Regions from separate parts of the Homo sapiens genome. Here all the other regions are linked to region 3. The links are contacts of gene promoters, found by promoter capture Hi-C in human tissues and cell types (Jung and others, 2019). All regions are on one chromosome and are shown on one strand. The core of a region is centred on a gene start or on the middle of the fragment in contact, and the rest is flanking DNA. Distances in the headings are between cores, read along the strand shown. Region 1 holds the start of RNF223 (ring finger protein 223). Region 2 overlaps C1orf159 (chromosome 1 open reading frame 159). Region 3 holds the start of TTLL10 (tubulin tyrosine ligase like 10).

What was found. Contacts are between HindIII fragments. The study calls those that stand out against the background at their distance.
Region 1: the fragment with the promoter of RNF223 here is called in contact with the fragment with the promoter of TTLL10 in region 3 in 5 of the 25 tissues and cell types used here (IMR-90 fibroblasts, lymphoblastoid cells, mesenchymal stem cells and 2 more).
Region 2: a contact is called between a fragment that was not itself captured here and the fragment with the promoter of TTLL10 in region 3, in 11 of the 25 tissues and cell types used here (H1 embryonic stem cells, IMR-90 fibroblasts, bladder and 8 more).

What each region holds. Positions count from the first base shown.
Region 1 is chr1:1,072,804-1,077,099 of GRCh38, reverse strand. RNF223 (ring finger protein 223) reads left to right here and starts at 2,794. Exons shown (of 2, transcript NM_001205252.2): 1 at 2,794-3,084. RefSeq lists an enhancer at 2,602-3,101. The HindIII fragment of the contact is 34,324 bases long and covers 1-4,296 here.
Region 2 is chr1:1,107,083-1,111,147 of GRCh38, reverse strand. All of the region lies in intron 1 of C1orf159 (chromosome 1 open reading frame 159), which reads left to right. Among named protein-coding and RNA genes, the nearest start is that of C1orf159, 7.0 kb to the left of the region's middle. The HindIII fragment of the contact is 6,974 bases long and covers 1-4,065 here.
Region 3 is chr1:1,171,906-1,176,196 of GRCh38, reverse strand. It overlaps TTLL10 (tubulin tyrosine ligase like 10), which reads right to left and starts at 2,317. Exons shown (of 16, transcript NM_001130045.2): 1 at 2,271-2,317; 2 at 1,876-1,912; 3 at 1,708-1,773. TTLL10-AS1 (TTLL10 antisense RNA 1) reads left to right here. Exons shown (of 2, transcript NR_173246.1): 2 at 1-3,141. RefSeq lists an enhancer at 82-600 and a silencer at 2,078-2,167. The HindIII fragment of the contact is 14,261 bases long and covers 1-4,291 here.

The DNA.
Region 1 (4,296 bases), core at 1,545-4,044, 100 kb after region 3:
AGCCTCCCGGCACGGAGTCCCCGTAGCCTCAGCCTCCCCCCACGGAGTCCCCGTAGCCTCAGCCTCCCCCCACGGAGTCCCCGTAGCCTCAGCCTCCCCCCACGGAGTCCCCGTAGCCTCAGCCTCCCCCCACGGAGTCCCCGTAGCCTCAGCCTCCCCCCACGGAGTCCCCGTAGCCTCAGCCTCCCCCCACGGAGTCCCCGTAGCCTCAGCCTCCCCCCACGGAGTCCCCGTAGCCTCAGCCTCCCCCCACGGAGTCCCCGTAGCCTCAGCCTCCCCCCACGGAGTCCCCGTAGCCTCAGCCTCCCCCCACGGAGTCCCCGTAGCCTCAGCCTCCCCCCACGGAGTCCCCGTAGCCTCAGCCTCCCCCCACGGAGTCCCCGTAGCCTCAGCCTCCCCCCACGGAGTCCCCGTAGCCTCAGCCTCCCCCCACGGAGTCCCCGTAGCCTCAGCCTCCCCCCACGGAGTCCCCGTAGCCTCAGCCTCCCCCCACGGAGTCCCCGTAGCCTCAGCCTCCCCCCACGGAGTCCCCGTAGCCTCAGCCTCCCCCCACGGAGTCCCCGTAGCCTCAGCCACCCCCCACGGAGTCCCCGTAGCCTCACAGCCCTGCACGGAGTCACCATAGCCTCAGCCTGCCCCACGGAGTCCCCATAGCCTCAGCCTCCCGGCACGGAGTCCCCATAGCCTCAGCCTCCCCCCACGGAGTCCCCATAGACTCAGCCTCCCCCGACGGAGTCCCCATAGCCTCAGCCTCCCAGCACGGAGTCCCCGTAGCCTCAGCCTCCCCCCACGGAGTCCCCGTAGCCTCAGCCTCCCCCCACGGAGTCCCCGTAGCCTCAGCCTCCCCCCACGGAGTCCCCGTAGCCTCAGCCACCCCCCACGGAGTCCCCGTAGCCTCACAGCCCTGCACGGAGTCACCGTAGCCTCAGCCTGCCCCACGGAGTCCCCATAGCCTCAGCCTCCCGGCACGGAGTCCCCATAGCCTCAGCCTCCCCCCACGGAGTCCCCATAGACTCAGCCTCCCCCGATGGAGTCCCCATAGCCTCAGCCTCCCAGCACGGAGTCCCCATAACCTCAGCCTCCCCCCACGGAGTCCCCATAGCCTCAGCCTCCCGCCACGGAGTCCCCATAGCCTCAGCCTCCCGGCACGGAGTCCCCATAGCCTCAGCCTCCCCCCACGGAGTCCCCATAGCCTCAGCCTCCCCCCACAGAGTTCCCATAGCCTCAGCCACCCCGCACGGAGCCCCTCACAGAGCTCCCACCCCTCCCCAGCTCTTGAGTCCCCAGCCCTCCCTGTCTGAAAGCCCAGCCCCAGCCCGCGCCCCGCTCTCTGAGCATCCACCCCTCCCTGTCTGAGCACCCAAATCCGCTCTCTGAACCCCCCTAACCCCCGACTGAGAGTCCTCATGGAACTGGCAGGGGTCCCCCCAACCCCTGACTGAGAGTCCTCATGGAACTGGCAGGGGTCCCCCCAACCCCCGACTGAGAGTCCTCATGGAACTGGCAGGGGTCCGGCCCTTCCTGAGCCCAAGTCCCTGTGCTCCTCCTCGGGGTGTTGCCCCCTGGCCTCTGCAGTCCTGGTTCCCACTTCCCAGCATCCCTTGGGCTCCAGGATGCCCGCGGCAGCCCTGGGGGAGCCTCTGGGTCCCTACTGAGGGGTCGGCGGGCACCTGCATGGGAGTTGCCTGAGGGCAGTCTGTGGGGTGGCCCGGCCAGCTCTCCCACTAGGGTGGGTCCCTCACTCCCAGCCCCACCCAGTGTGGCACCCCCCCAGGCTGGTGTGTGGAGTCCCAGCTCAGGTCCGGCCCAGGCCTCATGGCGGGGATGGGGCTGTGGCAGCCGGGTCGGACCTCCCCTTGCATGAGGTCCACTGGGCTGGGAGAGAGACGCCTCAGTGAGGTGGGGAGCTGGCAGCTGGACAGCCTGGGGGTGCAGCTCTACACCAGGCCCTCGGGCCCACAGCGGGGTGTGCGGGGGACGGGGCAGCCCATGCCACTGGCTGCTCCTCTGAGACCCACACATCCTCCATCCCAGCCCTGCCAGCCTCAGCCCCCAGACTCTCAACCAGCTCCAGCCCTGGTCTTTGCACAGACCAGTCCTGTAGTCTGCTAGGGCATGTGGACATGGCATGTGTGTGTGTGTGGACACAGGGCACGTGTGTGAGAGCATGTGGACATGGCATGTGTGTGAGAGTGTGGACACGGCGTGTGAGTGTGGACACGGCGTGTGTGAGTGTGGACATGGCATATGTGAGCTTCCGGACACGGCACGTGTGTGAGAGCCTGTGGACACGGGGGCATAGAGCGTGTGAACACATGGCCCATGTGTGAGAGCAGCCACGTATGTGTATGGATGAGGCAGGTGAGCACATGGGTGGGTGTGGGCAGGGAAGTGGCAGGAATGGGCTGTGAGGGCAGGCAGCAGTGAGCAAAGGGCAGGGGCAGGCTGGGCATAGGTTGTGGGGGGCTCGGGGAGGGCCCCTGCTAGGAGGCCCACCCAGGAGCTCAGGGGCCACAGGGACCTGGAACTGCGGTGAGCAGCTTCCAGCAGGTGCTCCAGCCTCCTGGGGCTATAGGGAGAGAGGGCTTTGTCCAAGCACACACCCCAGCCCAGACCTGCCCAGGCTGCAGCGGCTGTGCTGACCCCTACCCGGCTCCGACCCTCACCCCTCCCTCCCTGCCCTCCAGCTGCCTGGCCCGCCAAGGAGAGGATGAAGCCAGCCAATCCCTGAGGCTTGCGGCCACACCCTTGGCCCATAGGGTATAAATAGACCTGCTTGGGAGCCCACACCCAGCAACTCACACCTGCCTCAGACCAGAGCTCTGTGCGGGTGACGGCGCACGCATTCCTTGTGTCCCCGCCTGTCTTGGACAGAGCAGAAGCCACACCTGCCAGACCAGTGCCACCGGGACAGCTGCTGGTGGCCGGCCCCGGGGAGGGATACCTGCTGGGTGAAGCACAGGCCGGGCCGGGCCCGGAGAAGAGGAAGCAGACACTGCCACGGCAGGGCAGCCCAGGGCCTTGGAGCCCAACCGTGGCCGGCGAGGAGGACCACGCCCAGGCCCGCTGACCCCCGGCCACCAGGTAAGGCCAGCTCAGCCCGTGTTCACCCCTTACCTGCACAGGCTCAGGGTGGGGCACCATCGTGGAGGGGTGGGGCCTCGTGCCAAGGAACCGGTTCTGTGGGGTACACAGGCCGCAGAGCACAGTCCCCAGGTCCCGGTGCCTGGGGCACTCACGGCCTCACAGTGACGGCGTGTGACTCAGGTGGTCACAGTGACCTGTGTCATCCCGCCAGCCTGTCTGGGACTCACTGGCAAGTCAGGGGTGGGGCGGGGCAGTGCCAGGAGTCACTTCTGGGGCAGCCTCCTGGGCCCCACGGGGACGCACGGCCAGGCCCTTGAGTCTCACTGTCACCCTTGCCCACTTCCCTCCAGGTGGGACCCCTGTGGCTCCCTGCAGCGGATCCTGGGTGCAGGGGAGGGGCGGGAGGTGGAGCAGGGTCCCAGGTCAGCTGAGATGCCCACCTGAGCCATGCCCAGGGGCAGAGCAGCATCCCCCAGTGTCCGTCCCCCAGGGTCCCTGCCATGAAGTGGGATTGGGTCAGGGAGAAGAAACACCCACTCAGTGGGCGGCTGAGGGTGCCCTGACCATCACCTGACCATGAGGCAGTGGGCTGGCCCAGAGGGAATGGCTGGGCTTATCCAAGTCCCACCCCCACACTGTGCACATCAGACCCTCAGCAGCTAGACAAGCCGGCCCCGCAGGCCGCAGGTCGTGCCTGACGTGCACCTTCCTCGGGCACTGACCCCTGCCCCTGCCTGGGCCCTCCCTGTCGTCCCAAAGCCCCCGGGGCTCAGCCCGGTCCCCAGACCCAGAGACCCCCACACCCCACCCTCACATAGCTGCCTACAAATCAGGCCTGCACCGCCCAAGCCAGGCACCCATCCTGGGATCTGAGTTCAAACTCACTTCACTTGACTTGGAGTCCCTGGCCTGCCTGAGAGCCGTATCTGCCAGGGTCCAGGGCCCGCCAGCTCCCTTGGGGTGGCCCTGGCCGAGTCACCCATGCTCTGGGCGGCCTTTTCCACACTGTGGCGTTGTGTGAGTCCCGTGATGTGGGCCCAGCCTTGCAGAGCTCCGACATAAACAGTGACGACTGTGGCTATTGTCATCCTCACCATTATTTCTGCCCGGGCAGCAGGGCCAGCCAGGTGGGGCAGGGCCAACAGGAGGTGTCTGCCGAGCGGTCAGTGAGACCCCCCTACACACGGCCTGCATTCCCGGAGCAGGCCT
Region 2 (4,065 bases), core at 114-2,613, 64 kb after region 3:
TCCCATTATTTAGCTTTTTGGCTCCAATGAGATTTTCAAAATAGAAAATGCATGTGTTTAGTTACTAAGGCATAATTTACATGCAGTGAAACACACAGAGCTTGTGTCCAGTTCAATTGTTTTGACAAAGGATTCACCAGACTCCTGTCGTGATGTAGAATCTGCCTGTGATCCATGGAGATTGCCTCGCAGGCTGCTCCAGCGCCCGCCTGCCGCGCCAGACAGGAGCGCTGCTGTGATTTTACCGACACTCTGAGTGTTAGGAGTCACACGTGCGGGCGGTTTTGCGTCTGCCACGGCTCACGCAGAGAACTGTTGTTGAGCTTCCTCTGAGGTGCTGCACAAGGAGTGGGTGTGGGATGCGCTGTTGCGTGCTCGTCGTCTCTGAGGGCGCCCGGGTGGGTTTCCGCTGTCTGAAGAGTTGGGCCTATTTTTGTGCACGTGTTTGGCGGGCGTGTGTTGTTTCTCTTGGGAACGTGCCCGGGGGGAAGGCTGCATCCCAGGTGTGGAAGTCCCAGCGGTTCTGTGTGTCCCCACAGCCGAGAGGCTGAGTGCCGTTTGGTCGTGGAGGCTTTAGTTTGCATTTCCCTGACGCTCACCCGTGTTGAGCACTGTCCACTCATCTGTTGCCATTCGCACACGTTTTCTGAGTGTCCGAGGATGTCTTTTGCCCATTTTTTTGATGACCAGATTGTGAAAGTCCTTTATATATTCCATATTCAGGGCTTTTGTCTGGTACGTGTACTGTGACTATCTCCCATTCTTTGATTTGCCTATTAATTTTATTACTGATGTTGTAAACTAAGAATAAAATCCTAAGTCCCCCGCCGACTGAACGAGCTCCCTCTTGGTCAAGGGGACCCCAGAGAAACCTTAAAAATTGAGTTTCCGGCCATAAAAGGATGGGAGGTTGGACACACCTGGTTATACTGCCACCCTTTTTCAGTTTAGACACAACTGACCAACATTAGTGTTAAAGTGGAGATCACGAGACTGACAGACTCTGCGGCAATAAGACGCCGAGTTATAATCAGGACCTAAGGCCGTGCCAGGCCGGGGTTAAGTCACACACCCTTACAGTTAAAGAATAAGGCTTGGGTTTTCTTTTCCTCTAGCAGTTAAGCAGGCACTGGCCTGAGACAAGCGGTATGGAAACAGTGATGGCTCGCTGCCAGGCACTAACTGACCCCCCATTTCACGGCCATAACTACAGCGTCACTTTCCATAACTTCCTCCTGATAAGACACCACTGGCCACGGACTGGTTCTGCTGGTCTATGGAGGATGTGACTGGAGTGACTCCCGGGCCGCGCCTCACCTTTGGCCATATAGGGCCTAATTGTCTTACATGTAAATGTGAAATCTCACCTCTCAGTGAACATGGGTCCTGCGTTACATGCATGTTTATCTAGTACACATGCATTAAGACAGGAGAGAGGAGCGCTTGAGCCCAGGAGTTCAAGACCAGCCTGCGAAACACAGCAAGACACCCTTTTTACCAAAAAATAAAAATAAAATTAGCCAGATATGGTGGCAGGCATGTAGTCCTAGCTACTTGGGAGGCTGAGGCGGGAGAGTTGCTTGAGCCCAGGAGTTCAAGATGGCGGTGAGCTATGATTGCACCACTGCACTCCAGCCTGGGCAACAGAGCAAACCCATCTCTAAAAGAAAGAAAGAAATTTTAAAAAGGAGGAAAGGAAAGAAAGGAGAAAAGAGGAAAGGAAAAAGGAAAGGAAACTGTTCCCATTAAACACTAACTCCCCATTCCTCCCTGCCCCCCAGCCCCTGGCAACCACCGTTGTCTTTTCTGTCTCTATGAATTCGACAACCCTGGGAACCTCATGAGTAGAATCATACAGTATTTGTCCTGTTGTGATGAGCTGCTTTCACTTAGCATAGTGTTTTCAAGGTTCATTCCTGTTGTAGCATGCGTCCAAAATTTCTTTTCAGGACTGTAGAATATTCCACGGTCTGTATAGACCACCTTTTGTTTATCCATTCATCTGTGGGTGGACACTTGCTCCCACCTTTTGGCTGTGGTGAACAATGCTGCTGCAGACATGGTGGCTGTGGTGAACGGTGCCGAGACATGGTGGCTGTGGTGAACGGTGCTGCCGAGACATGGTGGCTGTGGTGGACGGTGCTGCTGAGACATGGTGGCCGTGGTGGATGGTGCTGAGACATGGTGGCTGTGGTGAACGGTGCTGCCGAGACATGGTGGCTGTGGTGGACGGTGCTGCCGAGACATGGTGGCTGTGGTGGACGGTGCTGCTGAGACATGGTGGCCGTGGTGGATGGTGCCGAGACATGGTGGCTGTGGTGAACAATGCTGCTGCAGACATGGTGGCTGTGGTGAACGGTGCCGAGACATGGTGGCTGTGGTGAACGGTGCTGCCGAGACATGGTGGCTGTGGTGGACGGTGCTGCTGAGACATGGTGGCCGTGGTGGATGGTGCTGAGACATGGTGGCTGTGGTGAACGGTGCTGCCGAGACATGGTGGCTGTGGTGGACGGTGCTGCTGAGACATGGTGGCTGTGGTGAACGGTGCCGAGACATGGTGGCTGTGGTGGACGGTGCCGAGACATGGTGGCTGTGGTGAATGGTGCCGAGACATGGTGGCTGTGGTGGACGGTGCTGCCGAGACATGGTGGCTGTGGTGGACGGTGCTGCTGAGACATGGTGGCTGTGGTGAACGGTGTCGAGACATGGTGGCTGTGGTGGACGGTGCTGCTGAGACATGGTGGCTGTGGTGAACGGTGCCGAGACATGGTGGCTGTGGTGAACAGTGCCAAGACATGGTGGCTGTGGTGGACGGTGCTGCTGAGACATGGTGGCTGTGGTGAACGGTGCCGAGACATGGTGGCTGTGGTGGACGGTGCTGCTGAGACATGGTGGCTGTGGTGAACGGTGCTGCTGAGACATGGTGGCTGTGGTGAACGGTGCTGCTGAGACATGGTGGCTGTGGTGAACGGTGCTGAGACATGGTGGCTGTGGTGGACGGTGCTGCTGAGACATGGTGGCTGTGGTGAACAGTGCTGAGACATGGGGCTGTGGTGAATGGTGCTGCCGAGACATGGTGGCTGTGGTGAATGGTGCTGCTAATGTGTCTAGAATTGGTGGATTCTTGGTCTCACTGACTTCAAGAATGAAGCCGCAGACCCTCGCAGTGAGTGTTACAGTTCTTAAAGATGGTGTGTCCGGAGTTTGTTCCTTCTGATGTTCAGATGTGTTTGGAGTTTCTTCCTTCTGGTGGGTTCGTGGTCTCACTGGCTTCAGGAGTGAAGCTGCAGACCTTTGCAGTGAGTGTTACAGCTCATAAAGGCAGTGCAGACCCAAAGAGTGAGCAGCAGCAAGATTTATTGCAAAGAGCGAAAGAACAAAGCTTCCATAGTGTGGAAGGGGACCCGAGTGGGTTGCTGCTGCTGGCTCCGGCAGCCTGCTTTTATTCCCTTATCTGACCCCACCCACATCCTGTTGATTGGCCCATTTTACAGACAGCTGATTGGTCCATTTTATAGAGAGCTGATTGGTCTGTTTTGACAGGGTGCTGATTAGTGCGTTTACGATCCCTGAGCTAGACACAGAATGATATTTACAGTCCTCTAGCTAGACGTAAAAGTTCTCCAAGTCCCCACTAGATTAACTAGACACAGAGCAGCGATTGGTGCATTTACAAACCTTGAGCTAGACACAAGGTGCTGATTGGTGCGTTTACAAACCTTGAGCTAGACACAGAGTGCTGATTGGTGTATTTACAATCCTGTAGCTAGACATAAAGGTTCTCCAAGTCCCCACCGGATTAGCTAGATACAGAGAGTGCTGATTGGTGCATCCACAAACCCTGAGCTAGACACGGAGTGCTGATTGGTGCATTTACAATCCTCCAGCTAGACATAAAAGTTCTCCAAGTCCTCACCCGACTCAGGAGCCCAGCTGGCTTTGCCTAATGGACCCAGCGCCTGGCCGCAGGCAGAGCTGCCCACCAGTCCAGTGCCGTGCGCTACACTCCTCAGCCCTTGGGTGGTTGATGGGATCGGGTGCCGCGGAGCAGGGGGTGGTGCCCGT
Region 3 (4,291 bases), core at 1,068-3,567:
CGGCACAGCGGCAGCCTCTCTCCACCTGCACAGCGTCAGCCTCTCTCCACCTGCACAGCGTCAGCCTCTCTCCACCTGCACAGCGGCTGGGAGCAGCAGTCTCTCCACCTGCACAGCGGCAGCCTCTCTCCACCTGCACAGCGTCAGCCTCTCCACCTGCACAGCGTCAGCCTCTCTCCACCTGCACAGTGGCTGGGAGCAGCAGCCTCTCCACCTGCACAGCGTCAGCCTCTTTCCACCTGCACAGCGTCAGCCTCTCTCCACCTGCACAGCGGCTGGGAGCAGCAGCCTCTCCACCGGCACAGCGGCAGCCTCTCTCCACCTGCACGGCAGCAGCCTCTCCACCGGCACAGCGGCAGCCTCTCTCCACCTGCACGGTGGCAGCCTCTCTCCACCTGCACAGCGGCTGGGAGCAGCAGCCTCTCCACCTGCACAACAGCAGCCTCTCTCCACCTGCACAGCAGCTGGGAGCAGCAGCCTCGCAGGGTTGCTGCAAAGATGGAGTTTCCACATGTAATGTCAGGACAGCACCCGCCACACACTGCGCAGTCTGCAGGGCTGTGGTGATGGTGACTGTGGGGGTGACGGGAGGCAGAGAGCTCAGGGACAGCTCAGGATAGGCGGGAACACAAGCACATGTGAAAAGCAAGGCGATCGCCAACTCTGAGGAAAACAAATGGGCACCACCCGGGGAGGCCGGGCAGCTCTGCCCCAAACATCATTCGTGCCGGGATGATATGGACAGGGCAGCGTGTGGAAGACAAGCCCCTTTCACCGTCCACGGGGAATTTCTGCACTGGAAGCTCCAGAAGCAGCAGCATCAGGTGCTTTTTGGAAACAGGCAGTTAGAAAGCGGAAGCACAGCACCCACCCCCCCACCCAGGAAACTGCCTCCGTCTCTTCTGCTGCAGAAGAAGCAGCAGCTGGAAGAGGCAGCCAGGTGCTGATTTCATCGTAAGCCTGAGGCCTCCTTTGGGCTTTTCTAACTTTATGTCCTTATGATGTTCACAAATAACTAAATAAGTTGTGAGCTGTTATTTCTTGTCATTGAAATTAAAGGTGTTTTTTTTTTTAATTTTTTTAGACGAAGTCTCACTCTGTCGCCCAGGCTGGAGTGCAATGGCGCAATCGCGGCTCACTGTAACCTCCGCCTCCCAGGTTCAAACAATTCTCCCGCCTCAGCCTCCTGAGTAGCTGGGATTACAGGCGCCTGCTGCCATGCCCGGCTAATTTTTGTATTTTTAGTAGAGACAGGGTTTCTCCATGTTGACCAGGCTGGTCTCAAACTCCTGACCTCGTGATCCGCCCACCTCGGCCTCCCAAAGTGCTGGGATTACAGGCGTGAGCCACCGCCCCGGACTGAAATCAAAGGTTTCTTAAGCAGCTGCCCGCTGTGTGTGTGGTGAACCCGGGGCCTGAATGCAGGTGGGACGCAGCCTCCCAAGCGCCGGGAGCCGCTGGCTCCTCACGCCTGTCGATCTAGCAAATGTGCTTTGGAGTCTCTGACGGACGCGATTCTGAATCCAGAAGGAAAGCGTCTCACTCCGAGATGCTGACTGACGTGTCCTTTATAGCGGTGGGACTTGGGAAGCCGGTGACGCCCGGTGTGGAGGACGGTTGTGACGCCCCTCGGTGGGGACACGGTGTAAAGGCGGCGTGGAAACTTGGTGCACGACCTTACAATAAATTGTAAAATAAGCGTTTTACCTGGTGAGATGAAAAGACCGGCAGGAGACGGCACCCCGGTAGGATGAACAGAAGAGACTTTTAAACCTGAAGAAATCATCCAAAAAGCGACCACATGTTAGTGTCCTGCTGCGAGTTCTCCCCCCAGAATCCAAGCTTGGCCACGTGGGGCCCTAGGAAGGTACTGACATTGTTCGAAGAGCTGGTGCCTCCCGGCCGGAGGCCGCTGTCAAAGGACGCACGACCTGTGGGCTCAAGCAGCCGTCCGTCCAGGACTTGCTCTGCGGAGGCAGACCTGGTCCCAGGCCACGGAGCTCGTCCCAGGGCTGCCCAGCCCTCCCACCCCACCGGGTACACACACCGTTCCCCGGCCTGGCCTGGACCCGAGCCTCTCGCACGGTGGCGCTGGGGTCCGGGACCCGCAGAGCAGGCTCAGCCTGGCCCCACCCTACCCGATCCCTGTCCAGTCCCCTCCCCAGCCTCCTCCTCTCCTGAGCAGCCTCCCGAGGGGACCCGCAGGCAGGGCGTAGGAGGGCGGGGCCGAGCCCACTGGACCCCAGCTGGTGGCCGCCGGCGCTTCTTACCTGCCCAGCCCACAAGGTCCTGGGAGCCTGGGCCAGGAAACAACAGTGGTGACCTGGCAACCGTCTCCTGGCAACCCCCACCCAGCCGGAACCCAGAGGTGAGCTTGGGTTTTCGGAGGATGGGGAGGGGCTGCTGAGTGGCGGGGCCAGCCCGGGAAGCCGGGCTGAGGGCTGAGGCTGGAGAAGGGCACAGCTTCATGGGCACAGCTGCCTCCCAGTCACTGCTGGGACTGCCTGAGCCTGAGCCCCAGTTGCTGCCCCTCCGCCCGGCCCTCCCAGGATGGTCCCTGAGCCGTCTCTCAGGCCCCACCCATGCTCAGCACCCCAGGACCTGGCCCGGGCCAGGCTCTGCGTGCACCCTGGTGATGTTGGCTGGATACACGGCTGCCGATCCCTGAGCATTCTCTGTGCTTCACGTGGTCGGGTCCCTGTTCTCACTCCACAGCGGACGAGGTGCCACTGTGCCCCCCTCTGCAAACAGGAACCGGGGGCTCCACAAAGTGAGTGCCCCCCAGAGGGGGACTCACATCTATCGGTCCAAACTGCACCTTTCTGTAAGCCCCTCGCTGTGTCACAGACCTCGGCCAAAGTGAAGCATTCCGCAGGGGTTTGGGCCGTGAGGAACAGCCTGCCCGACACCTGACTTGAACACTCTGCGGGGAAAAACACCGAGGAACATCACGATTACCTTCTGCGGGAACAAGGGCCAAACAAACGGCCTCATCCTGAAGCCGTGTGGCCCGGGCCGCTCCCACCCATACCTATAGGCACCCCAGCCCGTAGGCGGCAGTGGGCTCTGGCATCCAGCTGGTCCCCCACCTCTGCAGGTGTTTGCAATGTACCCGTGTTGATGTAAGGCTGCCCTTTCTCCATCTCTGTGTGTCTTTGTTTAACCCTCACATTCTCTCTTTTTTTTTTTTCAAAATACGGAGTCTCACTCTTTTGCCCAGGCTGGAGTGCAATGGTACGGTCTCGGCTCACTGCAACCTCCGCCTCCCAGGATCAAGCAATTCTCCTGCCTCAGCCTCCCGAGTAGCTGGGATTACAGGTGCCCACCACAGTGCCCAGCTAATTTTTGTATTTTTAATATTAATTTTATTTTTTATTTTTATTTTGTTTTATATTTTATATATTTATTATTTTATATATTATTTTCTATATTATTATAATTATTTTATTATTAATTTATTATTAATTTTAGAGGGTTTCATCATGTTGGCCAGGCTGCTCTTGAACTCCTGACCTCAGGTGATCCGCCCGCCTCGGCCTCCCAAAGTGCTGGGATTACAGGCGTGAGTCACTGCGCCTGGCCTGCCCTCGCCTTCTCTTTAAAACACCTAATGATACGAGGTCTGGGAGTCCTGGGCTCCTGGCATGACCCATGGCACGGTCTGATCCCCTCTGCCTCAAACTCTGAGCCTCCAGCCACGTGTCCCCTACCCATCCGTGTCCTTCAGAGCTTTGCGTGGGTCACGAGGGCCTCTGTGCTTAGGGTCCCCTTGCAGGGGGCTGGTGGTGCCCCCAAAAGACAACCACATCATAGCCCTGAAACCTCGAATGTGACCTTATTTAGAAGAAGGGGCTTTGCAGGTGGGGTTACGTCAGGATCTCTAGTGACATCACCCAGGGCAGGCCCTGAATCAATGGCCTCTGCCCCCCTGAGAGGGAGGTGGAGAGAGGAGACGCAGACGTGGGGGAGACGCCGTGGGACTGGGGGGCAGAGATGGGTGACACGGCCACAGCCACTGATGCCTGAGCTGGCAGGGGCTGGGGAGGCAGACAGGGTCCTCTCCTGGAGCCCCCAGAGGGGTGCAGCCCTGCCTGCCCTGTGGCTTTGGAGTTCTGGCCTCCAGATGCGGGCGTAAGCGTCTGTTGTTGTGCCTGCCTGTGTGGTTTTTCAGCAGCCGGGAGGAGAAGCCACCCTTTCGAGAGTGTGGTGCCCGCTCCGGAGCCGCCTCCCCGACCCACGCCGGGGCGGCAGCCTGGGGGTTCCCCGCTCTGTGTCCCTGGGGCCTGAGCTG